Regions from separate parts of the Homo sapiens genome. Here all the other regions are linked to region 3. The links are contacts of gene promoters, found by promoter capture Hi-C in blood cells and fetal thymus (Javierre and others, 2016). All regions are on one chromosome and are shown on one strand. Each heading gives the region's core, a stretch centred on a gene start or on the middle of the fragment in contact. The rest is flanking DNA. Distances are from core to core; before and after follow the strand shown.

Evidence for each region. The method cuts DNA at HindIII sites, captures the fragments that hold promoters and counts their contacts. A CHiCAGO score of 5 or more calls a contact.
Region 1: a contact is called between a fragment that was not itself captured here and the fragment with the promoter of EIF1AX-AS1 in region 3, in 1 of 17 cell types (neutrophils). The highest score is 5.1, in neutrophils.
Region 2: a contact is called between a fragment that was not itself captured here and the fragment with the promoter of EIF1AX-AS1 in region 3, in 2 of 17 cell types (total CD8 T cells and activated CD4 T cells). The highest score is 6.5, in total CD8 T cells.
Region 4: a fragment that was not itself captured here is called in contact with the fragment with the promoter of EIF1AX-AS1 in region 3 in 1 of 17 cell types (non-activated CD4 T cells); the score reaches 5.8 in non-activated CD4 T cells.

The regions. Positions count from the first base shown.
Region 1 is chrX:20,428,832-20,436,343 of GRCh38, forward strand. No RefSeq gene overlaps it. Among named protein-coding and RNA genes, the nearest start is that of RPS6KA3, 170 kb to the left of the region's middle. The HindIII fragment of the contact is 4,839 bases long and covers 1,180-6,018 here.
Region 2 is chrX:19,677,537-19,684,659 of GRCh38, forward strand. It overlaps SH3KBP1 (SH3 domain containing kinase binding protein 1), which reads right to left. Exons shown (of 18, transcript NM_031892.3): 6 at 6,287-6,492. Among named protein-coding and RNA genes, the nearest start is that of MAP3K15, 170 kb to the left of the region's middle. The HindIII fragment of the contact is 3,655 bases long and covers 1-3,084 here.
Region 3 is chrX:20,138,670-20,146,389 of GRCh38, forward strand. EIF1AX-AS1 (EIF1AX antisense RNA 1) reads left to right here and starts at 1,299. Exons shown (of 2, transcript NR_046592.2): 1 at 1,299-1,566; 2 at 1,666-1,775. It overlaps EIF1AX (eukaryotic translation initiation factor 1A X-linked), which reads right to left and starts at 3,169. Exons shown (of 7, transcript NM_001412.4): 1 at 2,956-3,169. The coding sequence starts at 2,971. RefSeq lists enhancers at 2,411-2,570, 2,901-3,170, 3,231-3,280. The HindIII fragment of the contact is 4,524 bases long and covers 875-5,398 here.
Region 4 is chrX:20,445,389-20,453,146 of GRCh38, forward strand. It overlaps the pseudogene RN7SKP183. Among named protein-coding and RNA genes, the nearest start is that of RPS6KA3, 180 kb to the left of the region's middle. The HindIII fragment of the contact is 763 bases long and covers 4,341-5,103 here.

The DNA.
Region 1 (7,512 bases), core at 2,349-4,848, 290 kb after region 3:
GAGGATTGATTGCGCCTGGGAGGCAGAGGCTGCAGTAAGCAGTGATCACGCCACTGCCCTCCAGCCTGAGTGACAGAATGAGACCCTGTCTCAAAACAAAACCAAACAAACAAAAAATGAAAAACAAAATAGAGCAGGTGATATCTATTCCACAGGCTTCTTCTAAAGACAAAATGAGATTATATGCATGCTCTATGGCAAACTGTAAAGTATCTCACCAACCCAAGGATTCTAGGCTTCTCTAAGGTCTACTTGAGGTCCCCAACCCTTAGGGCTGGTCATGATGCCTCTCTGCAGTGTGTCCTCTTGAACAAAATCTCAGTTCTGGAGCCCTTTCTCCTCCTTCCTGCGATTCAATACTTATCTGGGGCTTGTCACAGTCTTCTGGCTCCAGCTCTCAGGTGAATCCTGGAAGTCATAACTGATAAATTTGGCCTTCTGTGTCCCCCTGTAAACCATCCTAGACTCTGTTTCCAGAGATATCATTCTGAAACAGATTTCTGATCTTTTTACTCTCATATTTAAAATAAAACAAAACAAAATTTTCATTAACTCCCCTTCGCTTACCATATCAAATTCAACCCTTCTTAGGTAGATAGTCCCTTTTCTAATCTTATCTGCCCCTCACCTGTAGCATCAAATTTCCTAGTCATCCAGTACACCCCTTGCTCTCTACTAAAACACTAAGAGAGCTGGGTGCCAATTCTGGCAGAGCTACTTATTAGCTGTGTGACCTTGGACATGTTACTTAAACTTTCTGTGCCTCAGTTTTCCTCCTTGGTAAACGGGGATAATAATAATACTTATTTTATGGGATTCCTTTTTAGGATTACATGAGGTAATGTGTATTAAGTTGTTAGTACTGTATGTGGCATTATTAAGTGGGCAAATAATGTCATTTTTTTTTTTACTATTCATACTCTTGTTACTATCAGACCCTCATAATTTCCTTTCTCTTCTCCAGCTCTTTCTTCATCCAGGGATGACTTTCATCTTAGCTTCATCACTTAAAATCTTACTCATTTGTTTTTAATGTAACTTGGACAAATTATTTTAGCGCTCTCAGCCTTTGTTTCTTCATCTATAAAATAGATAAAGTCATATATACCTCATAGGCCTTTTCTATGGGATAAATGAGATTATATGAAAGCTCTATGGCAAATTGCAAAGTATCTTGCAAGCTTTCTCTATAAGCATTCTTTGACTATTTTCTGACTACTTATCTTCACTTTGATATCCCCTGAAAATGATATCCTCATAGGATTTTTGTACTTTATTTTTGGTATTTGTCATATCACAGCCTTGCTATAATTTGCCTTGTTATTTATATACATATATAGATTGAATACTTCTTAAAGTTAAGATTGATGTCTACAGCTGATGCAGTACAAGGCAGCAAAGTAAGTTTGCTTAATTGAATTGAAACCCAAATTTATAATACAGCTTTAGTTGCTTTGGTCGATAACATGGGTTTGCAAATTTTATTTGCACATTTCTTTACCCCAGGAAAGGGATCTCCAAAGGTGGGATTTCAGCCTTCACTGAATAGGCTATTAGTATAGAACAGTGCTATTCCAAGGGTGGTTTCCAGACCAGCAGCAGTAGCATCAGCAACTGGGTGCCTGTTAGAGCTGCAGAACCTTGGGGTCCACACCAGTCCTACTGAATCATATTCTCCGGGGCTGGGTAGGAATCTGTGTTTTAACAACCTGCTAAATTCTTATGCATGCTAAAGTATCAGAAGCATTGGCATAGACAGTATGCATGAAGAAAATTTTAATTTTCTTCATTTGGCATTTTATAGAGGAGTGCCTATTTGTAACAGTCGTCTGTTTGATCAAAGGCAATTTATTTTAGCAAAATGTACCATGTTTTCAAATAAGCAAAATTTCTTAGAATTTAACAGAATTTCCTCTAGTTCCTCAACGTATGAGTAGTAATTTTTATTGGTTTATCATATCTATGGCAAATTTTAATTTCAAAAAGACAGAGAAAAAAGACTAAGAGGTAAAAGGGCACCGACTGGTACTTATTAATCAAGTCTATAAAATTGTGACTTGTTTTTGCAAGAATGTGAGACTGTTGATCGTATCCTTCTTAGAAGGGCTATCCCAGACTGTTAAATGGAAAAAAATAAAAACATCTTAAGTGCTCTCTTTTTACACTTTGAAGGCCTTATCCTTCCATACTGAAAAATGGGGATTCTATATTGCAAAGAGTAATGGGTCATGGCTGGAACCTGTTATAAATGTCGTCTTCCTGGCTGTGGGAATAAACACTTCAGAGCTTAGATAGTAATTATTGTCACATGAAAAGCAGGGAGGCATATTATAACTTCTCAACTGTCAGAAAGCCCTCTTCTTGCAAATGGCAGCACTTCACAGGGACTTTTACACTGTACCGTTTATAATTTTCATGGCTGACCTGTTATTTTAAAATACCAACAGGAAGATTAAGAATGTTGACAGGAAAGCAGTACCAACCAATGCCCTTTGGTCCTCCTAAACTTGAACCAGAAAGCTCCCTTGCCTTTTAAGGAAGATTATAATCTGCTAAAATAGAAAAAGGAATGACAAAAGGATTATGTCCTATAATAAGTTTAGGACAATCCAGAATTTTCCTTAAGTAATTGCAGACTGCAGTGTGATTGTTTACATGTGTTTGTTCTGACTGGGCAATTTGGGCATAGATTGTTTCTAGTACAAGAGTAGGACAAAGGATGGAAGAGATTTTTGCCTGAAAGTTTGATCCGTTCCTGAACTCTGGACTGTTTCAGGACCTCATCCTTTGGTAGATTGCCAATGAAATAAATCATACAAGACTTTTGTGAAACATGTATTACCTCAGGACATTGGGACTTCTAAGCAGATAGAACTAAATGGGATTAAGTAAATTAATACTTGTAAAGCACATTGCATAATGCCTGGCACAGGGCAACTGCTATATAAATGTTTGCTAAATGGGACATTCTACTCTGAACAAAGAGAAGTTCTATCTGTATTTCTAGGAATATTTTGGATTAGAAAATGAATGCATCTTGAAAGAAGGGTATCCTAGGGTTCAGGCTGTAGAACCCCACAATGCAGTTGGCACCAATTATCTTTTTAGCTGGTGACTGCCATATATGCCAAATTTCTACTTAGGATTCCTTGTGGCAATGCAGAGTTGCAGAAAGCACATTGCATTTGGGGTCTCATTCTAGACATAGCATGGCCACCTATTAGGTAAGAACCCTGGGCAAGTCCCTTCACTGCTCCCTGATCCTCATTTTCCTTAGATGTAGAGGCTCACATTAAATACGTCTAAGAACTTTATAACTTGAAAGCATTATTCACATGGATGGTTTTATCCTCAGATATTTACTTGTGGTATAACCGTGGAGTTGGGGCAGCTTACATATTTGGTGAGTCACCAGGGATGAATAGCTGAGTTGACATATTTTCCAGAGGAATGGCGGGATGCTACAGCAGGAATGTCAGGAAACTCCTTTTGAATGAAATGGCATGGTGGGGGAAGGAAGAGAATCCCTCAGTTGCTGCCACAAAAACTGTCAGAAATTAATGGAAAACATTTATTGTAATTGTCACAGCTTCTTGCCTATCTAGCATGCATTCTGCCTTATTTTCTAACAGAACTGTGCATTTTTTTTTTCAGCCATGTGTCCTGGGGGAAGCTAATCTCATCCACCTCTTCAGGGATGCCTGATTGACTTAAGTTTATTCCTATTGTCCTTAAATGGACACGTGATCAACTCTGGCCAATGAGACTGAAGAAAGCTGCTGAGGGGACTTCTGGGAAAAGTTTCTTCACCCCCAAGAGGGAGCCACAAAAAGAAATAGTCTCTCTTTTACTTGTGAGCTAAAACCAGCCATCCCAACTGACATGGGACTTCCCATAGATTATCTTATCAATCATCACAGCAGTCTTTGGGATAGGTGGTGTTGTCCCCACTACATGGAATGAGGAAACCAAGAGGTTAAGTTGCTCAGGGTCACCCAACATCTAGGTGGAAGATTTAGAACCCAAATTGATGTCTGTTCAACTTCAAAGGCTGTGCTCAAGTTGTTGTTGTGGTCTAAACTTTGCCTCAGATGAAAACTTGTCAAGAGGCAGTATATTTACTGTGCTGTGGCCATGAAGCTAGCAGAAACTGGGAGCTGGATGGTCTAAGGGTTTTTCTTTCTTTCTTCCTTTTTTTTTTTTTTTTTTTTGATGTTGGCTTTGCTGTCCAGCATTTGACCTTTCTGGACCTCCATTTCATCATGTGTAAGACAGTTGGACCAGATGTTTATTGAGGTTCTTTTTGGCTTTGAGATCTTTCGAAATGATGCTTGGTAAACAACAGGGAGGGATAAGAGAAAATGAAAAAACATACATTTGGTATCTTGAGAAAGGGCACCAGGCAGGATTTCCCCTTTCAGCCTGAGGTTCAGGGTTACAATGCATCAGTGATGTTGCTGAAGAACAGCAGAAAGTTCCGCATGGCATTCAATGGAACAAACCAAACCAGCTAAGATCCTTGCTACAATAAGAGGAACAGAGCTAAAAAGAGGCCAGATAAGGGATATTTTCTGTAGGATCCTCCTCATCAATCCAGCCAGCTTGATGGCTGAGTTCCTGAAGAGGGAGTTAGGCTCTGAGGAGCATTTGTGCTTTCACTTCCTTCCATTCCCAGAGTGCTTAAAACAGGGTGGGGCAGGGGTATATGAGGCATTTTTCAATACTTGACTTCTGTTTGCTTCCTATTGCTGGAAAAGTTTCTGTGATGTTATCACCAGAGATAGCAATAGTGCTTAGAGATTCTTCAGCCCTGAATCATGAAGGAAGGGCCCCTTGCAGGAGACACTGCAGCTCTCATTTGGGGCCAAGAAAGGAGTGGAGACTCTTCTAGATAGCATGAGTCCATTAAGCCCCTTTCTGATCGATGTTAGTTTTCTAGGGCTGCCATCGCAAAGTATCACAAACTGGGTGGCTGAAAACCACAGTTTATTGTCTCACAATTTTGAAGGCTACAAGTTAAAAATCAAGGTGTCAGCAAGGTCATGCTCCCTCTGAAACCTGTAGGGGAGAATCCTCCTTGGCTGCCTCCTAGCTTCTGGTGGTTGCTGGCAAACCTTGGCGTTCCTTGGCTTGTAGGTACATCACTCCAGTCTCCGCCTCCATCATCACATGGCCGTCTTCTCCCTGTGTATCTCTTCTCTTCTTATAAGGATACTAGTCATATTGAACTAAGTGTGCACATAAGGTTATATTCTGAGGAATTTGGGGCTAGGAATTCAATATATATTTTAGGGGGACATAATTCAACCATGCACCCTTCTAGGTAAACTTCTACCCATACCTAATTGAGTTCTTGCTATATGAGGCAGTGAGTTTGTCTATTTGGGGTTGCTTTTCAAAGCCAGTCTTTATGTTTGTTGAAAAATGATTCTATCTTCAAGAAATTGTATGGGATGAAGGAGGAGCTGGATGTTCCTGGAGCAGCAGCCAAAGGATGTGGTCCCCCAGATCAGAGCTTCTCAAATGTAGTAGGCACACAAATCCCTGAAGATCTTGTTAGAAAGCAGATTCTGATGCAGTAGGTCTAAGGTGAGACCTGAGATTCTGTCTTTCTGATGAGCTCCCAGGTGATGCTGATGCTGCTGGTTCCTGGAGTAGCAAGGGTCTAGATCTAGAATAGATGGTGGTCACATCTGTTTATGCAGAACAACTAAAATGTATCATTCTTGGGAAGTTTCAAAACTTCAGCTGTATACTAGCCAGAAAAATTCCCAGTAAACTAAGTCAAAATATCCCAAAATGGGAAAGAGCAATTCAATTATTTTTTTTCATGTGAGAATGAAGTCAGAAACATCTGTGTACATTCATCTGGATGGATACAGTGATTTCTAACTTCTGGACCACGCTGAATATTTGAGACGTGCATGTCAGAAAGATTGTTAGGAAGAGACCGACTTCAAGATTTAGGGCAACCAAGCAACTTTTACCTCGGTGTGCTAGGAAAACATCATTTGGAGAAGCTTCAGGCCAGTGTTGACAGGGACTGACTACCTCCTTCTTTGAGAAGTCAAACAGCCAGATTTCTTTGGGTTCAAATCCTGTTGGGGTCTCAGTCTCAGGGCCCACCCAGATGATCTCTGAAGACTGCAGCTGTGGCTTTGCTCCCACCCACACCCATAACCCTCCTTGCTTGCCACTTCCCTTAGCCCCTCAATGATTCCCAGATGCTCCCCATCCATGCTAGTCAGAGGCTGGACCAGCATGTAGAAGGACCAGGTGGCGGAGCCAGGGTGTATCCCTTGGAGGGTCCAGCCTCTGGATGAACTTCTGCAGAGCAGGTTCCAGAGAAGAGAAATCCTTTTGTGATGTCAGAGGCTGGCAATTTGGTTTTCCAAGTTCAAGAATGACCTGATTATTTCCAGCTCGAAAACACCCATGCACTATTGGATATCTTACAATACTTAGTTGGAAGTTTCTAGGAAGATAGTTGTCTGAGTGTTTGGCACGTTGCATCTTTTGGGTCAGAATGTTAGTTTGTTTCCATGGTCAGTACTGTGACTATAGGATTTGTAATGAAATCCAACTGTGTCAGACTACAAATCCCTGTAATGTCTTCTCATAGTTGAAAGAATGGGGAGAAAGAGAACAGCACAGAGAGTTTTGGTTACCTATTGCTGTGGAACAAACTACCCTAAAACTTAGTGGTTTAAAGCAACTACTATTTTAGCTGCTCATGATTTTGTAGGTCAAGTATCTGGAGAGGCACGGTGAGGGTGGCTTGCCTCTGCTTCACAATGTCTGGGTCCTTGGCTTCGGTGGCTTGAATGGTTGGGAATTGGTTGAGATGGCTCACTTGGGGTCATATGCTCGGGTCTCAGTTCTTTGCCATGTGACTTCTTTATGTGGCTAGCTGGGCCTTACCATGGTGGTCTCAGGATATTTAGGCTTCTTATAATCAGACAGTGGAAGCTTCCAGGTTTCTCTGAGGCTTGGCGCTCAAAGGCTTGGCTCAGAGCAAGCACATTGTCATTTCTGTCATATTCTATGGGTCAAAGCAAGTCACAGGGCATGCCCAGATTCAAGGGGAGGGAAAATAGACTCCAGCTTTTGATGGGAGGAGTGGCAAAGAATTGGTGGACACTTTTAAGCTACACAGAGACAGAAGTGGAAAGAAACATTTTTGTTCATGTTCTATCCAGGTTCTGATCAGATTAGTTCAGCTCAAGCAGTCAACAGAGTCCCCTGTGATTCCCGGCCTCAGATTTCTAGTGGCCAATTTTTAACTTTAGGGTAGAGTCAGCAAGTGGCCTTTGAACCTTCAGCTACACACACTCACTTGGTCTTTTCATTTTTATTTTTCAAAACTTCCCTTTTGCTTTTCTGCCTTCCAATAGCAAGTCCTTTCTAGATGAAGGCTTTGTTCAAAAAAATTCTTTTATTATGTATTTTTGTTGTTTTATAAAAATCATCTAAGCAATACATAAATACCTTTTCATTTGCAAAATTATGATG
Region 2 (7,123 bases), core at 7-2,506, 460 kb before region 3:
CTACTTGATACAGTCCCACAAGAACTTCCAAATCCAGCTAGTCTAACCCATGTCCTTCCTCCCCAAATATCTTCTCTCTCCACTGTTTTCTAATCAGAAAATAGTACTCAGCTGCTTAAGCCAGTTGCCGAAGGCACAATCTTCAAGTCCTCCCTCTTCTTTATCCCCCACATACTATCAAACTTGATTCTATCTTCAAAATATTTCCCCAAACCATCCATTTCTCTCCATGACAATAGTTCAAGCTGTTAATACATCCCTTACCTTGATGTCCCCTTCTATGTAAAGAAATTCAAATGGACACTCTCTGGACACAATTAGACACTCCTGCCGTTCTCTTCCCCTTTATGTTTCCTTCCCTGGGAGAGTGAAATTACTTATCTGATAGGTGAATTTAAGAAAAATATACTGGGCGTGCTCAGCTTAGCTCTTCTCTTTCCTCCTCTTGGAAGTCAGCCTTCTCTGCTGTTCCTCAAGGGGCAGGTCTTTCTATCTCACATTGGCCTGAGTTAGTCCAATGTTGCTGAGATTGTGTGGGCAAATCTGTCTAATTCTGGGAATCAGCTGGCAGGCCCATTTGCCTCTCACACTAATCTATACCTTCCAACTTTGCCTTCATCAGTAATGACACTGAAATAAAACGTATGCACAGAGAGATCACAAATCATAAGTGTTCAGCTTGAGAACATTTCACAAAATAAAACATAATCTATACAAATAGAGGGATATACCATGTTCATGAATTAGAAAGGTACCAATTGTCATCAAAAGTGTCTATAGATTCAATGCAATCTCAATCAAAATTCCAGGAGGTTTTTTTTTTTTTTTATGATGATGGGGGATTGACAAACTGATTCTAAAATTTAAATTAAAATGCAAAGGGCCAAGAACAGCTTAGGTAATCTTGAAGAGGAATACATAGGCAGCATAGAATGGGCACAAGGAAAAAAAGACCAACAGAACAGAGTCCAGAAATAGGCCCACTTATATATAGCCACTTAGGTTATGACTAAGGTGATAGGGCTGTGCAGTGTAGAAAGGATAATCTTTTCAATAAACAGTGCTGGGTCAACTGGATATCTATAATGAAAAAAAAATCAGCAAAATATTTTGATTATCCATTCACTCACTCATCTAATTAATTAACTGGTTTAGAACCTAGATTTGGAGTGGGGGGCTATTTATCAGGAAAGCCAGTATGTTTCTGTTACCTCTCTTCTGAATTTTACTCACCCTGTCTTCTGTAATCCACTCCCCACACTGCAGTTGGAATACTTTCGCTAAACCACCTATCTGATCGTGTCACTCTCTTGCTTAAAACACTTTGATAGTTTCCCATTGCTCTCAAGATCAAGTCCAACTCCCTAACGAGTCTCACAAGACTCTTCATGATCTGGGCCCTGCTTCTTTCCCCGCTTCCTGCTGGAGCCTCTACACATCATCTGTGCTATCTCTTTCCCTCTTCAGGGCATTTATAGATATTGCTCTCCCTACCTTAATAACTCTACGCCTACTGGACCCATGGTTTTCAGCCTAAACATCACTTCCTGTAGGAAGCTGGTACACACACACATGAACGGACACACACCTTCCAGCCTCCCTAACAACTTACCACTTCCTGCCATGCCTGAGGGCTCCTACAGCACAACACTGTGTTCTCAGCCTGATTATGGCATTTCCTATACTCTATTATTATTGTTTATTTACTTTTCTGTAGCTCCCTGAGGGCAGTGACCTGGTCTCCCTCACGACTGTATCCTCAGTACTGAGCATATTTAGTGAGCACTCAATACATGCTAGTTGAAATGAGTCATATTTAGAAAGTATTTTCAGGTATATATTTTTTAAGTCCTGTGAGGTAAGATAGGTAAAAAAAAGTATTCCCATTTTACAGATGGCCCAGCTGAGGCCAACTTCATCGAGGTCAATCAGCTAGGATGAAGGTACTATGGCCCTATGATTTTCTAAGGTGTAACCTGGTTCATCTATAGCCATATAGCATTTTCCATTATTTTGATACAGCACATACTTACATCTGAGCTTGGTTTAAATGGTACATGTTTCTCCAAGGTTCTTCCCCACCCCCCTTTAACCTTTTATCAAGGGAAATTTCCAACATACACAAAAATAGAGTGTGATGAACCCCCATGTATACACCATCCAGTTTCAACAAATACCAACTCATGATCAATGTCTCCTCTATGCCCCACTCTTTCATCTTCTGGACTATAGGAAGCAAGTCCCAGACATTAAATCAACTCAGCTGTAAATATTTCAGTTAAATGGTACATTCAGCAAATCATTCGGAGACATATCCACTTGGTGGTATTTAAAAGATTCATAAACGGAATCCTTCCTTATAGCCTGATAAGAGAAACAAGAATACCTACATGAACTATTTATCTATTCACAGTTGGTGGAGGGATGTTATACAATATCTCTCCTGGTGTATAATCTAATCATTAACTCTGGGTAGGGTAATATAGATTAAAATATAAGATAAGCACAAGATTATCTACTGACTCAGACAAGTGGATCTTAATATTTCACAAACTTGGCCAGGTATGGTGGCTCAAACCTGTAATCCCAGCACTTTGGGAGGCCAAGGTGGGCGGATCACTTGAGGTCAGGAGTTCAAGACCAGCCTGGTCAACGTGGTGAAACCCCGTCTCTACTAAAAATACAAAAAAAAATTAAGCTGGGTGTGGTGGTGTGCACCTGTAATCCCAGCTACTTAGGAGACTGAGGCATGAGAATCACTTGAACCTGGGAGGCAGAGGTTGCTGTGAGCCAAGATTGTGCCACTGCACTCCAGCCTAGGCAACAGAGCAAGACTCTTGTTTCAAAAAAAAAAAAAAAAAAAAAACTTCACAAACCTGAACGAAAAGTATAATATGATGCTCACAGCTGTTAATAATGGTCAGATTCCCTTTTTCCCTCATCCAAGTTATCAAGCCAGACATTTCAGAAGGCCAACTGTCGCAGCCTGAGCAGACCTACTTGAGCCTCACCTACTGAATGCTATCACGCAAGATCCAATTTACACTTCTAAAAATGAAAACAGTGAGCTCAATTCTCAAAGGAAGCTTTCTTCCTTAGACATAAATCTTAGACACATAACCATCTCAAAAGTGATGAAAACCAGGTTGTATGCTAATAAAACAGAATCACACTTATCGGCTTTTGTGCCAGGTTGTACAATAACATGATAGATCCATAAATCTATGCAACTATCCATGGCGCCAACAACATGGGGTGGAGATAGTTTCAAATCCTCTTAGATGTTGTAAAAATTGTCCACACCCAGAAAGCAGGCTAGGAAGTTTATGTTTTCCCCAGAGGCTCCACATGAGAAATGGGTTTAGGGAGCTTCCAGCACATGGTTTCATTCTGCAGACAAATCAGGAATCAAGATGCATACACGAATGCGTACACACACACAAATGTCAAATATCCCTATCTGAAATGCTTGGGACCAGAAGTGTTTTGGATTTCAGATTTTTTTTTTTCTTTTTGCATTGTGGAGTATCAGCAGAATGCATCCAGGTTGAGCATCCCTAATCCAAAAATCCGAAATCCAAAATGCTCCGATGAACATTTACTTTGAGAATCATATTGGTGCCCAATAAGTTTCGATTTTGTAGCATTTTGGATTTTGGATTAGGGATGTTCAACGCACTTGCGCACACACATATATGTGTCTGATGAAGTTAACACTTCATGGCACCAATATCAATGCAATAAATGAACTATCTGCTTCACAGAGGTGCAGTGAACTATACAATTGATATATTTTCAACTACACAAGTGCTATATTATCTCACCCAATACTCTCATTCTAGAGATGTCTGTAATCTCTAAAGTGCAGCATTTATATTTTAATATTATTCATTCAACAATATTTATTGAGCACCTACAATGTGCCATGCACTGTTCTAAGCACATAGAATAGATTAGCAAACAAAATAAGTGACATATATAACAAAAATAAATCTGTTAGAAGATGGTATGTGCCACAGAGAACAAAATATTTAGTACCAGGAAGGGGGATGGGGTGAGGTTTCTGCTAAGATAGCAGGGAGGAAAGGGAGGCAGCCAAGTGGGCAGGTAGATGCAGAGTGGCCCAGGCTGAGGAGACCATTGCAGCAAATGCCCCCTGTAGGAGTGTGCATGGCATGTCTGAGGAAGAGCAAGGACCCAGAACGAAGAAAGTGAAGGGAGAGCAGTGGGGGAGGAAGTCCCAGCAGTAACGAGGGTCGGGTCTCACTTTTTTTCTCAGGAAAGCCTTGGTAGGGGTGTGAGCAGATGAGTAGCATGATGTGACTTGGGTTTTCAAAGGTTCTCCCTGGCTTCGCTCTTAAGACTAAACTCCAGGGGGATGGGGAGAGGCAGAAATCCCTATTAAGGAGCAGTGGAAGTGATGAGACCTAGGTGGATGATGGACATATTTAGGAGGCAGAGCTGAGAGAAAGAGCCAGGGACAACCTGAGGGTTTCTGTCCTGAGCGATAGGAGTGGGAGATGGCGCTGCCTTCAACTGAGATGGGGAAAGCTGTGGGTAGAGCAGTTGGAGGAGGACGATGAGTTCAGGTTTAGGCAAACGGATATGAATTTAAGATCTTCAAGTGGAGATACTGAAGTAAGCAGGCAGTTGGACATACAGCTCTGAGGTTCAGGAAAGAAATGTGCTGAGATAAAAACTTTCAAGTATTATATTTGACATTGACATTGCTATCAACAGTAACTCAATTTATTATTGGCAGCTAAAACTAATATTAATAGCAATAATAAGAGTCATACACACACACACACACACACACACACACACACACACACACACACAGTCCTCCTACACAAAGAAGATAAAGGCCAGGAATCATAAAACAAACAAAAGGAATGAACTGTTTGCTGACTGAGTCAATGGTCGTTTTCACTTCAACCACTTGAATAAAAGAAGAAAAACTGCATCCAGTGTTCCTTTCCAAGATGGGGACTTGCTCTTTTGTAAATGTTCACAGGAATCTGAATGTGACCATATGCAACAGAAGTGAGCTCAAGAGCTGGGACACTAGTTTTCAGATCTTGAAAAATATCATATATTGATTGCTGAAAGGAACAATGCTGACTCAAAGAAACTTCAACATTGAAAAAAAAAGTTTAAATGAAACGGTTTTTAATTTCTAGGTATCTGCCCTTTCTGCCTGACTCATCTCTAGAGGGATTCAGTGTTCGAAAAGTTTCCTTTTCAGATTCTGCTTCTAATGCATGATGACACTGGGCAAGGTTGCTGAGGGCGGGTGGAGGGGTGGATGTCCTACAGCTGCAGAAGATGATGCAACCTTTAAAATGTTATCCCACCAAAAAAAAAAAAAAAGAAAGAAAAAAAAACAACAACACTTAAAAGCCACCCATAAACCTGAATTAGAGAGGTTGCCAATACCCCGTCCCCCAAATCTGCTGGCACAAATGTCAAAGCAAAAATTTCAGCACTAAATCGAATTAACAAACATGCCTTAAGCACAGCACGAGAGTAGCTTATTATAATTTGGAAAATTCCACAGTATTTATCAACTCCTAAGCAAGGCTACAATGCTCAGAAGTATACCACAGTAGACGTCATCGGCAGCCACAAGCGCGAGGGCTCTGGGTGTGTTGCTGTGGTAACCGCGTACTCAGCAGCAACATGCTGCCTGCCTCTCACTAGCCCAGAACCAGAGGCAGAAGGAAACAGCCAGCTTCCTGAAGGGAACAACCCAGGGAGTCACAGCACAGGCCATCTCCATCATTCACACCTGCGGGAGACTTCCTTTCAACAGTCTGAAATTATCTCCAACTAACTCTTAGAGAAAAGGTGCACAATTCCTTCACTCTAGTGCAGAACCACAGTCAGCACACCCAAGCACAAAGCACTAGAGAAATGTACAAGGAGCGGAGAGAGATTGGCCAGTGTCTGAAAAGTGTCAGGGTCATGCACTTAGGCGGGTCCAGGAATGAGGGGTTTTTCTGGGAAGCAGATAGAGAAGTACTGGTCCATTTCCAAAGTCATCCTGAGAAGCATTCCCTAGAGAGATCAGCAAGAAAGAAAGCAGCAAACTAGAGCATGAGCCTTTTGAGGGAAGTCGTTCCCACACAGAGGGAGAGCTAAAAAAGAAGACAGGACAAACAACTAGTACATGAGGACATGGAAACCCTAAAAGAGGAATTGGAAGCCTCCAGCACCAAACCCCACAACGTACTTTTGGATATTCCACATTAAGTTGAAATCAAATAGAAACTGTCGAACATACCTTTTCTACCGGCAGAAAGTCATTTTCTACTTCAATTGACCTTGGTCTTAGTTTGATTGGCTTGTCTTTGAAAATGTCTCCAAAGCCCACTCCCTTAACTTTCTTGGGCTGGATTGCTGCAGTTGCCACTGTCCCGTTGGCACCTTCAGACTTGGTGCTGCTTGAGTCACCCCCATCACTCTCGGAGCCTGTGGTTTCCCTTAAACCTGTCAAGAGTGGGGATGGGGAGAGAAAGAGCTCAGAAATCAGCCAGAGCCCTGAAGAAGAACTTCACAACCAGCCAGGAACCACCTCTAAAAGTGTGACTGGGCACAGGATAACTTGCACTAGGCTTTTGTATTCAGTATGTTGAGTAGTTTGACTGGCTCTGAGTTTTGTTTGATCTCCCCACCCCTTACTTTTAATTTTAAGATGTGAATCAAAACAACTTTTCAGAAAATCTAATTCCAAAGCAGATATCTTTGTACATGTGAAATTCACCCCTCTTTAGCCGGGAGCCTGGTTTTGATCCAAATTTGTTTTCCCATAGCCTGTGCAATAGCAACCCTTCCCACCCACCTTGTTGCCTCCCCACCCAGTCAGTACCACATACTGTACCTCCAATCTCTATGACTCATGTCAATTAGCAATTAGCAATGAAAGTAACATTTCCTAAAGGGAAACTGTAAAGCTAAAAGCCATTTAAACAAATGAGCAATTAAAGAAACCACACAAAATTATAACTGCCAAAGAATTCAATCTTTTTGGATGGCTTCACAAGGAATAAATGCATGCAGACATGTTTCTCTAGGAAAGCATTAAACCAAACTTGACATTAAGACGGTTTCACTAGCAAGA
Region 3 (7,720 bases), core at 49-2,548:
GTAAAACAGTATGAAATAAAATGAAATTAAGGCTTATAAAACCATTTTTTAAAAGATCACTTAAATTAAAAAATTCATCTATTTTAGCTACACAATCATATTAAATTTACAATCTCCAATCCCAACATTAACACATTATCACCTCCCTACCCTTCTTGGAATTTCCTTTGGGGATTTTTCTGACATAAAATACACATAAATAGCAGATATTATGTTAAAAAATATAGAAAAACATTTCACTTTAGCACCCATCCTTTTGAAATAAAAATGCAATTCTATACATATTCTTCTAAGCGGAAATCTTGGGTGTCTTCTAAAGCCAGGCCCTATGCAAGGAACCCGATACTTTCAAAATTAAGTGAAGACAGTGTCTGGACAGAGAACTGTGGTTTTCAAACTTTTGGTAGCAGAGTACCATAAATATTGAAATCTCACTGGGTGCAGTGGTGTGCGCCTAGGGTCTCAGCTACTCAGGAGGCTCAGGTGGGAGGATCACTTGAGCAAGCCCAGGAGGTTCCAGGCTAGCCTGGGCAACATAGCGAGACACTGTCTCTTAAAAAATAAAGAAGATCTGTTCGGTACCCAATTTACTTTCTTTTATAATGCTGGTCCCTACTCAACATCCCTGTTTCTATTATATGACCCCAGTGACCATGCTCTTAACCACTATGCAATAATTCTGCCCATTTACTTGTCACAATCACCCCATGAGGTCATAACATTCATTTATTCCCAGTTTACCCATGAGTTCCCTGAAGCTCAGAGAAGTTAAGTAAGTCGCTTAGCTTCAGTGAGTAAATCAGTTCACTGATTACAGTCAGTAAGCTGGGGTGACCAAAGTCACAATGTTTTTTTTGCCCCTAGCCCCCACATAAGCTTACCTCTCCACAGCATTTTGCTCCCATTCCAGAAAGGAAACCACATTGGCAGCCATTTCCAAAAGGCAGGAAAAAGGCTGTAAGTGGTAATGACCCTAAGAGACTCATGGGAAGAGCTTGGAAGCAGCAAAAAAAAATGGAGGACACTTAAATTAGGTCATGAAAAGTACCATTCCTCTAAGTAAGATAACTAAGAACTGATTGGTTTCAGACAGTACAGGAATGATAAACACCAAACTCAGCCTGGTGATTACCTCCAAAAAGAGAGTAAAAGGTGATTAGGGCTTTACCTCAATCTGCGCTGTAATTCTTAAATTCAGAGTAATGGGTTCCCAGGTATATCATGTTAGCTGTATTTTTTGTATGCCTCAAATGTTATTTAAGAAAAGACTAATTACTTGTCAATTTACCAGAATTAACCATACCCGGATCACTCCCCTTTGTATTTTATTGCCATGTAATGGGATGTTCTTTAAATTCTCTGTTGAATGAATGAGACTAGGTCTGAGTGTACAACAATTAAAGTGACATCAACATTCTTTAAACCAGAGTTGTTTTGGAGAAATTCCCAGAGAGGCTCTTTCTTAAGACATGAGGCTAGGGAACTAGATGTGATTTAGTGTAGAAGTCCTATCCCCTTGGAACCAAAGCAGAACCTATTATTCACTAAGGGTGGAGTCGACAGGAGGTAGGTGACTTAAACCAACAAATATTTATTAAGCATCTACTAATTGTCAAGTGCTGGCAATCCAATGAGATTAAGACAGATACTATTCCTGCCTTGTAGAGCTTACAGCCTGGTGGAAGAATTGGAAATCTTATTACTAGAAATAAAGGTGAGAATAAGATGGAAGTGATCCCCTTACCACCTCAGAGAGAATAAAGGATTATACAGAAGAAAACTGTAAGACTTTAAAATTTTTTGTTTATAACTCCATCTTTTCCAAAATAATGAGCAGTGACTGCACCAACTTGTGCACAGAACACCTCGACCAAGTACCCTAAGGGATAAAGTAATAAGTGACAGCTACAAAGAGGAAATGTGGTAGAATCCCTGGAGCCAGCTGTCAAGTAGAAAAGAGAGCAGAAGTAGGCCTGTGTCAGGGGAGGGTTTCCTCTAGAATGAATAATCAAAGGAGACTACTTACGGACTATGAAGTATGCTCCTCTCCTGTAGGAAAATACAGTATTTTCCCTATATTTACTTGCACAATTTTCTTCAAGTTATACGGCTATTAAAAATGACAGGAACACTGTAAATCTATAAAAGTAATTTCTTTAGGAGTGTTCTGTTTTTTGTTTTTGTTTTTTTTTTTTTAAGATTAGGCCTTCCGTTTTGGAAATCCCAAATAAAGTTATCCTCAAGTCTGATCATTTGTGAACGCTTAGCCTCAGAATGGAGGACACTTAAATTAGGTCTTTATTCTCACAACATATGCATCATCTGAAGCAAAAGTAGAAAACTTGGCTCAATATGGAATAAGTCTTCAGCAAACAAACATAAGCTATATCCTGTAAAGGGATGGAGAGAGTAAATCTCTAGAGGTGAGCCTTAGAAATGTATCAAGGTTTCACCCACTGTTCACAAGGGACAGCGAGTAGCCTCAACAATACTGAACTGTCCATAAAGAAACCCATGCAGGAGTACCTGGTGCTCACGAATGCAGACAGCACTCTGAAAGTTCAGAACGGCTTCCAGGGATTATAACCCCTCATGCCCGGGAAGGCCAAAGGGGCCTATCTACTAAACCTAGGCCGCCCCGGGGAAGGTTCCCGCCACCGTCCCCACCGAGCAGCGGTCAGTCTGGCGCGAATCAGGAGCAAAAGCCCACATTCTCCCGCAGGAGGCCCTACAAAAATGGCGCCGGCTCCACCCCAATGTGACCAAACTGGGCAACAGGAGTTAACTTCCCAGCTCCTCTCCCGAGCTCAGAGTCGCGTGTGGGGCGCCCAGCCGCGGGCAGGCAGGGCGGGAAGGAAAAAGGGTCACTGCGGCCTGGGTGACCTGCAATCTACGGGCAGGACCTGGGAGACCCGGCCGAGCAGAGCCGTGGTCCGGGGGTCCGGGCGGCATTACCTTTATTCTTGGGCATGGCGGTGGCGGCGACCTCGCGGCGTCTCTGACTTCTTTCCGGGTAGCGGCGACCGCGGCGGCTGCTGCTCCGAGGGGCGACACGAGGGAGCGCGCGGGACCAAGTAGGTGCTGGAGGCCAGGCAACGTGCGCGGGAGAGGCTGGCGACCCAGCTCTTCAGAGATCCGCCTGCGTCCACGCTCGGCGGCAGCAAATGGCGCCGCGACTCTTTGCGTCGCTTTTCCCCGCCTCCCGTCGCCGGCTGGGCCCGCCCCCAGGCTTTATGACGCAGGCGTGGCCGACTGACTCCTATTGTTAGAGCCGAGGGAGACGCGTTGTGGGAGGGTGCGCAGCAAGCCAGAGAGGACGCGAGGGGCAGGGCCTCAAGCAGGGAAAAGGCGGAGTCAGGGAGGGAGGGGGAGAGACTCTGCGTCATAGAAAAGGGCGGGTTGAGGTGGCGCTTGCTGCTGGTTAAGACCAGACCTCTGCTGCTTTGTAGCAAACGCGCGTCTCCCGGTTTCACAAGTGGCTGACTCGTTAACCTCGTGGTTAGCTCAGTTTTTAAAAAATATGTATATTTTTATTTTTATTTTATTTTTTGAGACGGAGTCTTGCTCTAGAGTCGCCCAGGCTGGAGTGCAGTGGCGCGATCTCGGCTCACTGCAACCTCTGCCGCCCGGGTTCAAGCGATTCTCCTGCCTCGGCCTCCGGAGTAGCCGGGATTACAGGCACGTGCCGCCACGCCCGTCTAATTTTTGTGTTTTTAGTAGAGACGGGGTTTCAGCATCTTGGCTAGGCTGGTCTTGAACTCCTGACCACGTGATCCATCCGTCTCGGCCTCCCAAAGTGCTGGGATTACAGGCGTGAGCCACCGCGCCCGGCCAATATTTTAATTTTTTTATTAAGATGGAGTCTTGCTCTATCGCCCAGGCTGGAGTGCAGTGGCGCGATCACGGCTCACTACAACCTCCGCCTCCCGGGCTCAAGCGATTCTCCTGCCTCAGCCTCCCGAGTAGCTGGGATTACAGGCATGTGCCACCATGCCCAGGTAATTTTAGTACTTTTAGTTGAGACGGGGTTTCACCATGTTGGCCAGGCTGGTCTCGAACTCGTGACCTCAACTCGCGCCCACCTCGGCCTCCCAAAGTGCTGGGATTACAGGCGTCAGCCACCGTGCCCAGCCGGTTAGCTCATAACGCAGTCCTTTCACTCGCCCAGCCGGGTTGGGAGCCTGATGGGAAGGGCAAGGCTTTCCTGGCATCCATTACCAAAGCATAATATTTGCATGGCACTTGTTATTACTCTTTAAGTCTGTCTGTCCTACCTCACTGTAAACCTTACCGGGCAGAGACCATGTTTGTTGCTTACCATTACCCCCACTTAGCTGAATGTCTGGCACATAATAGGTGTTCAATACACACAGAAAGGAAGGGAGGGAGGGGAGAAAAGACTTAAGCTCAATGTTAATGGGCTGAATTGTGTCCCCCCCAAAATTCGTATGTTCACGTTCTAATCCCCAGTAACTCAATGTGACTGTATTTGGACATAAGTTCTTCAAAGACGTGATTAAATTGAAATGAGGTCATTAGTGTGGACCCTTATCTGACTGGTGTCCTTACAAGAAGATATTATTAGGCCACAGGCATAGAGGGAGAACACCACGTGAACAAGAAGGTAGCCATCTATAAGCCCAGGAGAGAGGCCAACCCTGTTGACGCTTGATTTTAGACTTTCAGTCTCCAGAACAATGAGAAAATAAATTTCTGTTGTTTAAGCCACTCAGTACGTGGTACTTTGTTATGACAGTCCTAGCAAACTAATACAGCTGGCTAATGCTGGGCTGTACTCTACAAGATTTATTTCTAAGTAAACTTATTTTGACTAAACCAAGTAAACTTATTTTAAATAAATCACCTTTCCACAAACACCAGGGTTTGCACATACTTAGAAGACAGAAATAAAGTATCATCATCTAATATAGTGGTTCTTTTCTGTGAACATTTGGCAGCGTCAACCAGAAATGTTTCTGGTTGTCATAACTTGAGGAGGGGGGCAGTGATGCTGGCATCTAGTGGGCAGAGGCCAGGGATGCGGCTAAACATCCTACAGTGCACAGTACAATCTCCCCTCCCCCATACAAGCAAACAATTATCCAGCCCAAAACATCAGCAGAGCTGATATTGAGAAACCCAATGACAGATGCACTTCTTAGAGTGAAATTGAAAGATAATGGGGGACTCAAAGTTCTGGGTTTCTCTTTCTATCTGCAATATTTTTCAATTTACATAATTGAGGATGAAAGGATTTTTTATGAAATTTATTTAAATTTTGCTCCAAGGTCAAATAATTATGAACTTGAGCTTTGGAGTTAGAGAGGCCTGGGTTCAAATTCAAGCTCTGCAGTAACTTATTACTCTATTTTCTTGGGCAAGTTTTAATCTCTTTACAAGCTTCCGTTTTCTCATCTGTAAATTGGATGTAGGAATAGTACTAACCGGCCAGGCGCAGTGGCTCACACCTATAATCCCAGCACTTTGGGAGGCCGAAGTGGGCGAATCACCTGAGGTCAGGAGTTCGAGACCAGCCTGGCCAAAATGGTGAAACCCCATCTCTACTCAAAAATTCAAAAATTAGCCGGGTATGGTGGCAGGCGCCTATAGTCCCAGCCACTTGGGAGACTGAGGCAGGAGAATCACTTGAACCCAGGAGGCGGAGGTTGCAGTGAGCCAAGATCGCGCCACTGCACTCCAGCCTGGGCAACAAGAGTGAAACTCCATCTCCAACAAACAAACGAACAAAAAAAAAGAAAAAAAAAAGAATAGTACTTACATTAGGTTGTTGCAGGAATTAAATTGATATAATGCATTCAATTAGCAATTGTGCCTAGTACATGGTAAGTAGTTAGACTCTAAGAGTCCGGAACTCTAAATGTTTAAAAATAAAAAGTTTCTGTCAATTACCCAGTATAAAACCTCAAAGAGGAAAAAAAAATATCAGGCTTCATTTCTCTACTGTAGGATGGTTCCCCCATCTGACTGATCATCTTAATCACTTGGAAGGAAGTGAGTCAGGTGGACATCTGGGGGAAATGTGTTCTAGGCAGAGAGAACAGCAAGGGCAAAGGCCCTGAGTGGAAGCATGCTTGGTATATTCAGGAAACAGCAAGAAGCCAGGTGCAGTGGCTTCCACCTGTAATCCCAGTGACTCAGGAGGCTGAGATGGGAAGATCGAGCTTGAGGCCAGTAGTTCGAGACCAGCCCAGGCAACATAGCGAGACCCACCCCCCCATCTCTAAAATAATAAACACACGACAGTAAAAAAAGCCAGGCATGGTAGTTCACATCTGTAGTCCCAGCTACTTGGGAGGCTGAGGCAGGAGGATCCTTAGAGCCCAGGAGTTTGAGGATGCAATGAGCTATGATCGTGCCACTGCATTTCAGCCTGGGCAACAGAGTGAGACCCCATGAAAGAAAGAAGGAAAGGAGGAAGGAGGGAAGGACATAAATGAAGGAAAGGAAAGAAGGAAGGAAGGAAGAAAAGAAAGGTCAGTGTGGCTAGAATGCATTGAGCCAAGGGAAGAATTTGAAGAGATGAGATTGGAGAAGTAAGGAGGCCAGATCACTTGAATCTTCAGTAGGTTTTTTTTTTTTTTTTTTTTTTTTTTTTTGAGACAGAGTCTCGCTCTGTTGCCCAGGCTGGAGTGCAGTGGCGCGATCTTGGCTCACTGCAACCTCCGCCCCCTAGGTTCAAGTGATTCACCTGCCTCAGCCTCCCTTAGTAGCTGGGACTACAGGTGTGCGCTACCGTGCCTGGCTAATTTTTGTATTTTTAGTAGAGACGGGGTTTCGCCATGTTGGCCAGGCTGTTCTCGAACTGCTGACCTCAAGTGATCCACCCGCTTTGGCCTCCCAAAGGGCTGGGATTACAGGCATGAGCCACTGCGCCCGGCCTTTCAGTAGGTTTTTAAATAGATCATTTTGGTTTCTGTGTTAAGAACAGACTGTAGGGGGCAAGGGTGGAAATGGAAACCACACGGGAGGCTACTGTAACAGTCCGAACGAAAGACAGTTGTGGCTTGGACTAGGGTATAAAGTTTCTTTTTAGGATGGTGAGAATGTTCTAAAATTACATTATAATAATGGTTGCACAACTCTGTAAGTACTATACTAAAAGACATTAAATTGCTGGGTGCGGTGGCTCACACCTGTAATCCCAGCACTCTGGGAGGCCGAGGCGGGTGGATCACAAGGTCAGGAGTTCGAGACCAGCCTGGCCAATATGGTGAAACCCCGTCTCTACTAAAAAATACAAAAATTAGCCGTACGTGGTGGTGTGCACCTGTAGTCCCAGCTACTTGGGAGGCTGAGGAGGGAGAATCACTGGAACCCATGAGCTGAGATCGTGCCACTGCATTCCAGGCTGGGCAAGAGTGAGACACTGTCTCAAAAAAAATAAAAACAAAACAAAACAGTAAATTGTACACTTTTTTTTTTGAGACAGAGTTTCATTCTTGTCTCCTAGGCTAGAGTGCAATGGCGTAATCTCAGCTCACTGCAACCTCTGCCTCCCAGATTCAAGTGATTCTCCTGCGTCAGCCTCATGAGTAGGTGGGATTATAGGCTCCTGCCACCATGCCCGGCTAATTTTTGTATTTTTAGTAGAGACGGGGTTTCGCCATGTTGGCCGGGCTGGTCTTGAACTCCTGACCTCAGGTGATCCACCTGCCTCGGCCTCCCAAAGTGCTGGGATTACAGGCATGAGCCACCATGC
Region 4 (7,758 bases), core at 3,472-5,971, 310 kb after region 3:
ACACGAATACACTATGTGGTGTAGTCATGTGGCTAAGCCTAGACCTCAAAATAATAATCAAAGGCCTTAACATATTAAATTGATAACTCTAAATATATTAACTGTGGTCTTCACAACACCCCTCTAAGAGAAGTATCTCTGGTTCATGGGTGATGAAACTGAGGCCCAGAGAGGTTGATTAACTTGCCAAAGCCCATGTCTATTTGGTGGCACACATGAGATTAAAATCCATGTCAGTCTGACTTGAAAGGGCTGCTTCTCAATTTGCATGTGAGCTTGTTATGGCATGTGGGCATGTTGATGGATTTGTGGGATATATCTTAATATCACAGTGAAATAATAGAGCTGGTGGCTAATTTAGTGTTTTTACCAATACCACTATCACCACCTCCATCACTGAGCGTGTGGATCTGTTGGATGAACTCTTGAATAAATCAAAATGGAAAGGGGAAATATCTAGGAGGGAAAAGTGATTTGAGGGTTCACTGGGGTGTAAGATTACAAAAATCATGAGAGTTATAGAGTATCTAATGGAGTTTTTAGTAAAAAGCATGGGACAGCATTTAATTGTGCATTTTAGAGGAACAAGCTTCTGAAATGTGAGACCAATTGGCTACAAAGTAGAGACTCAATGCCACAAGATCCTTAAAGTGATCTGAGTGTCTGAAAAATAAAAACAGAATGAAAAGCCAACTAGACTCTAAAAAACAAAAGACAGAAGCCTGGGGATTACCCCATTTCCCCCTGTCTCTTGAAGAAAACTAGAGAATGTAGTTTTGATAGTTTTGTTTTAAATTCTTGTAGGGGAGTAATATTTAGATGGTAACCCCTGCATGATCCATCCACAGGAATTCATTTACTTCTCTTTCTTGCACCATTCAGGCAGCAGTGAAACCTTTCTCTACAGATTGCTCCCAAGGTAGGGTAGTTATAGCAGGAAAATAGAAAGAAATGACTTTTCACAGCTTTTGAGCTTCTAAATAAATTTTTAAGGTTTTGAGCTTTACTGGCATAGTTTTAACACTATCAGAGCCAAAATTTCTGCTATAAACCAGTAGTTCTCAATCCTCTCCTTGCATTAGAATCACCTGAGGATGTTGTAAAGCCTAACAGTGTCTGGACTCCACCTGCAAAGACTCAGTTTTAATTGATTTTTGGTGGACATTCACATATATATATATATATACTTCCCAGAGGATGCATTGTGCAACTAGGGTGGAGAGCCAGTATCTTAAACACTTGTTTCCAAACTTTGTTGCACATTAGAATTGCCTGGCAGCTTTTAAAATCCCCAGTGGCAAGGCTACACCTGTACCAAATCCCCAATGCCAAGGTTGTTCCCAGACCAATTAAGTTAGAATGTGTGGGAGGTGAGAGCTAGGTGCCTTAAACAATATATTTGGGAAATATTTCTGATGAGAGTTGTACTTTGACATTTCCAGAGGCTGGCAAGTGAGAGGAAGGTAGAAAGGAGAGAGAGAGAGAGTAGCTTAGACATTGGTGTGTCCTTAAGAAGGGGCTCAGTGACCCCCGCACAACTCCCTGTCCCGGTCAAGTTAAGATGTTGGCACAGGCAGTGATGTGCTGGCAAATGTTTAAAAGATGGTTCTTCAAGGGGAAAAAAAATCCCCTAATTTGCAGTTCGTCAATTTTTGGTGTAAATACTCCCACTATGGCCAGTTTCAAGTTACCAGTGTGACATCATTGATTGTGAAGTTGGAAAGAGATGCACACAATTTGCTCTAGGAAGCCCGTATGAGCTGGCTCCAGCATGCTACTGGGTATGAGCATGATAAACCCCTCAGATAGGTTTGGGGATCTGAGGGTAGAGAGAATCTTGTGCTTTATTTTTGGGCATGGACAGAAAAGGGATGAAAAAGTCTAAGTTCTCCCCACAATGTATCATCTAGAGTGGAAGTGGGGGCACATCTAGGAGAGTCTAGGTAGGAAGGGCATGAGACCAACTCTCAAGTCTCTTGTTGCTTTCCAGTGGTATCAGAGAAGATCCAGATTTTTCTGTACCCCTGGGAGCATTATGGAAGTGGCTAGGCATAGGTTGGGAGAATTCAAGGGGCCTTGAGGTTAGAATGAGAAAGTCATGAAGAGTTGTGGACGATTGGCTACAGATGCAAATGTTGGAGGGTAACAACAAGGATAAAAGCCAATAGCAGCTGAGAATCAGATGCTGCCTCTTGATGGCATGATGCTACTAACCTCTATGACCCTTAGAGAAGTGACAGAAAGGTCTGAGGAAACAGAAGAGATGGTGGCTGTTATTCATTGCACTAATTAGAGGTTATTACAGGGACTGCAGCCAGAATCTCTCTCTCCCTCTCTCTTTTGTTATTCCTGGTAGAAGCCAAAATTTCGTCTTGTTAGAGCTATTGAAATAATGCAGTAGGATATTTTTCTTCTTTCTTGTTTCGGGAAGAAAGAACTGGCAATATTTTGCAAATTCACTTTGAAAAAGAACAGCATGTCCCAAGTTCACTGAGGCGACCTTCCTGAAGGTTAATATAAGTAGGACAAGATGGAACACCTTATAAAAGTGCACATGCAAACATACCGCTTAGGATAGGGGTGTCACAGGAGACTCTTTGTCCTCTCTTTGGGGTGTGCATTGCTGAACCTCTCTTCTACAATTTGTGGATGCCTAATGGGTAGTGCCCATTGGGAGCCTAGTGATGTTTACACTAGTTCTGGCCTTATGCACAGTGATTCTCACATACTCTCGGTGGTAGGGCCAATATTATTAGGAGAGACTGAACAGCAGAATGAACACCAGAGTGGGGATCAGGAGATCTAAATTCTCATCCTGGTTCTATACCAGTTATGTGATCATGAGCAAATCCTTAACCTGTCTGAGCCACTTATTATATTATCAATGATCCCTTACTGTGATGTGCTTATTGAAAGAGCACATAAACCTGCTACTTTATTTCCTATTTTCTAGGTTTTCTTTTGATCATTCATCTCATTCCAGGTACTTCCCCATTTCTGCACTCACCTTTGCTACAAAATTCCTTGAGAGAGTAATGTCTATAATTGGTGTCTTCACTTCCTCACTTGACAGTTTCTCTTGGGCTAGCCTTGTTCTCCTCTGCTCCACTGAAACCATCTCGTGGAGGTCATCAATAACTTTGATGTTGCCAAATCCATTGGTTAATAGGCCTCATCTTGTCATCTCAGCACCTTTGACTCAGGTGTTGACTCCTCCTTTCTTGAAACATCTTTTTGTCTGGTTTGTGTAACACCACACTCTCCTGGTTTTCTTTCTACCTCACTGGTGGTTTCCTCTTCTGTTGCTGGTTCTTCCTCCTCTTCCAAACCTTTTAGTGGCACACTGCTATAAAGATACTACCTGAGACTGGGTAATTTATAAACAAAGAAGCTTTAATCACAGTTCCTCATGGCTAAGGAAGCCTCAGGAAACTTACAATCATGATGGAAGGTGAAGGAGAAGCAGACACCTTCTTCACAAGGTGGCAGAGAGAGAGAGAGCGAGCAGGGGAAACTGCCACTTTGAAACCATCAGATCTTGTGAGGACTCCCTCACTATCATGAGAACAGCATGTAGAAAGCCGCCCCCATGATCCAATCACCTTCCACAAGGTCCCTCCCTTGACACGTGGGGATTGCAAGTTGAGATTAGATTTGGGTGGAAACACAGAGCCAAACCATATCAAGTGTCCTCAGAGCCCGGTCCTCAGACTTCATTTCTTTTCTAACTAATCTCCCACCCCAGGTGCTCTCAATCAGTCCCATGATTTTAAACACTATCTATGCTCATTATTGTCAAATGATATCTGCCTCCAGGCCTCTTTCCTGAACTCTGGATTCATATATCCAACCTCTTACCAATTACTTCTACTCAAACAGTCAAATTTGCACCTCAAATCTAACATCTCCAAAATGAACGCTCGATTTTCCCTCAGTTGCAGATGGTATTGTCGTTCCCAATTATTCACTGCTTTCCCTGTGAGAGAATTTGATACTCCTGCCCATTGCCATCTGACTTGCAGGCCGTCCCCATGGAATGAGTATATCTCCCTGTCTTGTTGTTGGCTGGTTTGCCTATGTGACTTTCTTTGCCTAAGGAAATGTGACATATACCATGTCTGAGTATCTCCTTTAAAACACATTGCATAGTTCTACAATTGCTCTTTTTCTTTTGCCACTAGACAGGAGTTGTTCCTTCAGCTGGGTTCTGGAATAAAAAAGACATGGAGCGTAACTGATGTTGTTCTGCAGCCAACATATACATGAGCAAGAAAGAAAAGTTTGTTGTTGTAAGCCACTCAGACTTTGGGTCATTTGTTATCACAGCATAACCTAATGAAAGCTTACTGACACACCTCACTTCAGCATCTATTGCTGAGTAAAAATCCGCCCCCCAAAACTTAGTGGTTTAACACAGCAACAATTATTTATTTGCTTACAATATTTAAAGTTGGGTAAGGCTTAAGCCAGGCGCTGTGGCTCATGCCTGTCATCCCAGCACTTTGGGAGGCCGAGGCCAGTGGATCACTTGAGGTCAGGAGTTTGAGACCAGCCTGGCCAACATGGCGAAACCCCATCTCTACCAAAAATACAAAACTTAGCCAAGCATGATGGTACATGCCTGTAGTCCCAGCTACTTGGAAGGCTGAGGCAGGAGAATCACTTGAACCCGGGAGGTGGAGGCTGCAGTGAGCTGAGATCACGCCACTGCATTCCAGCCTGGGGGACAGAGCCAAACTCCGTCCGTCTCTCTCTCTCTCTCTCTCTCTCTCTCTCCGTCCATCTCTCTCTGTCTCTCTCTCTCTCTATCTATCTATCTATCTATATATATATAATAAAGTTGGGTAGGGCTTTATGAAGACATCTCATCTTTGTTCTATATGGCATCAGCTAAGGTGGCTAATGCAGCTGGGGGTACTACTTCCAAGATGGCTCATTCATACACTGGCCACTTGATGCTGGCTATTGGCTGTGAGCTCAGCTAGGACTCTCGGCTAGAGTTCTCAATCATTCTCCTTGCAGCCCTCTTCGCTGGGTGCTTCAGCTTCCTTGCAGCATGATAACTAGGTTCTCAAGTATGAGCATTCTAGAGATAAAGGCAGAAGCTTCACGGCTTCTTATAACCTACTCTTGGAAGGCATACAGCCCTACTTCTGCCTCATTTCATGGGCCGAGTAAGTCAAAAGGCCAGCCTAGATTCAAAGGAAGGGCAAATAGACTCTACCTCTTCAATTGAAGAGGGCATGGCAAAGTCATATTACAAAAAAGCATGTAGTATATTGTTGTGGCCATCTTTGGAAACACAATCTGCCATAGGCCACCTACACCCCATCTTGAATATCCTGCAGGCTTTTTCATCTAAGCCAGGTGTAGGCAAACTACCTGTTTTTGTAAATAAAGTTTTATTCGAACACGGCCATGCCCATCCATTTGCTTTTTATCTGTGGCTGTTTTTGTACTACAATAGCAGAGTTGAGTAGTTACAGTAGAGATTGTGTGGGCTGTAAAGTCAAAGATACTTACCATCTGGCCTTTTACAGAAAAGTCGGCTGACGCCTGATCTAAGTTAATGGGACTATAATCCACTCAACTATTCAGGTCACAAACTGGAGTCACCCCTGATTACTCTCTTTCTCTCATACTTCTAAATCCAATTTTTCGGGAATCCTCTCAGCTCTCTCTTAGAAAAATATTTGAATTCTGATGTCTTCTCACCATAATCCACTGGTCCAAGCTACCATCATCTCTCTGCTTTTCATTATCTTCTCTTGCCTGGACCATTATCCCTGCTTTTACTTTTGCTTTGTTTACAGTCTTTTCTCAACACAGTAGGTGGGCTGATCCTTTACAAACAGTTCGATTATGTCACTGCCTTGTCTAAAATCTACAAAGGTTTCATGTAGTATTTTTTTTTTTTTTGAGACGGAGTCTCGCTCTGTCGCCCAGGCTGGAGTGCAGTGGTGCGATCTTGGCTCACTGCAAGCTCTGCCTCCCGGGTTCACACCATTCTCCTGCCTCAGCCTCCTGAGTAGCTGGGACTACAGGTGTCTGCCACCGCGCCGGGCTAATTTTTTGTATTTTTAGTAGAAACGGGGTTTCACCATGTTAACCAGGGTGGTCTCAATCTCCTGACCCTGTGATCCGCCCACCTCGGCCTCCCAAAGTGCTGGGATTACAGGTGTGAGCCACCGCACCCGGCCTGGTTTCACGTAGTATTTTAAATGAAATTGAGAACTCATATCATGGCCTCCAAGTCCCTATGTAATCTCCCCTGCCCGCAGCCTGCCCATCCCCACTATGTGACTGACTTCATCTCCTTCCACTCTTCCCTTCCTTCTCCCCGCCTCAGCCACACTGGCCTCCCTGCTGCTTAACTCTCCAAATATGTTCTTGCCTCAGAATCTTGGCACTTGCTGCTCCATCTACCCAGAATATTCTTGTCCTGAGTATCCATGGGCTGACTCCTTCATTGCATTCAGGTATCTGCTTGAGTGGCATCTTGGAGAAGACTCCCTTGACTGCTCTATCTAAAATAGCACCCCTGTCCCCCTCTTTGCTTACCCTGCTTTTTCTTCAGAGCAATTATCTATTGGTTATTGTCTAATTCCCTTGTAAGAATGCAACTCTAGATACAGTATCCCAAGTACAGTGTTCAATAAATGTTTGTCTAGTGAATTTGTTGAGTGAATGGGCCTCAGTTTCCTCATGTGTAAAATGAAGGAGAGGGCCATCTGGCTGGAGCATCTGTTACTGAACTGGTTGCCAGGATTGTTTCCACTGATCTGACTGGCTAAGTGGGTGTTCCTTTTCTCCTTATATCCATCCCTCCCTAAGCCTACGGGTGCAATGGAGTCTTCCTTTTCTTTGGGCAAGGTTATCTGAGTCCTGATGCTTGCTTGCTGGAACCTCAAAACAAGTTCTTTTCTCACGAGGGACCACCACAATAATGCCTTTTCTGCCTCTTTTGTAAGTATTGTGAAAATCAAATGGAATAATAGATTTGGAACTGTAAACCTCTATGTAAGTGAAAAGAAAGATAATGTAAAATGGATAAGGACTGATTCTAGCATCACCCACAATCCCCTCTTCTCCCTAGGGCCTGCCCACTCCCCTGACCTAGGGACCGATTTAACAGTGGATGTGAGACACAGAAAAGAAGCTGACAACAAAATAGAGCAGCCTTGGGAACTTCAGGTCAATAAGATATGTATTAAATTCGTAAAGAAAAAATTAAAGAAGGAAACCCAAATGTTTCTAGCTTCAGGATGTGACTAATCTCTCTACCTTACCGGGCTCTAGAACTGAAACAAAAAAAACCTCCCTCCCAGAACAAAACAAAACAAAAACAAAACCACTTTCATCAGTTTAGGATTCTTACAAAAGAAGTTTACTTGTAATTTACACACTTAAATAGTAGTAACTCAAAAGCCCAGAATTCTCACACGATATTTAGATTATTGGAACACCACATTCACATCTCAGTTGTTAATCACTCAAAGGTAACTTTGACTTGCTCCTTAGCTGTCTTTTTCCAGATGTACCTCATGGTAATGATGAAGGCTTGTCTCTGGGTTTTGCAGGTGAGCCAAAGAGGCAACTGAGTAAAAATATTGGTGCATTTTCAGCCGAGCTTTCTGGTTTTCAGCTGGTGCAGGCAGCTAATAATCATTTAACTCAGGCATTTTTCACCTAGGCAACAGTAATGTATGTTTTGGATCATATTTTTTGGCTTTATTTCTGTCCTAATGAGAATAAAAG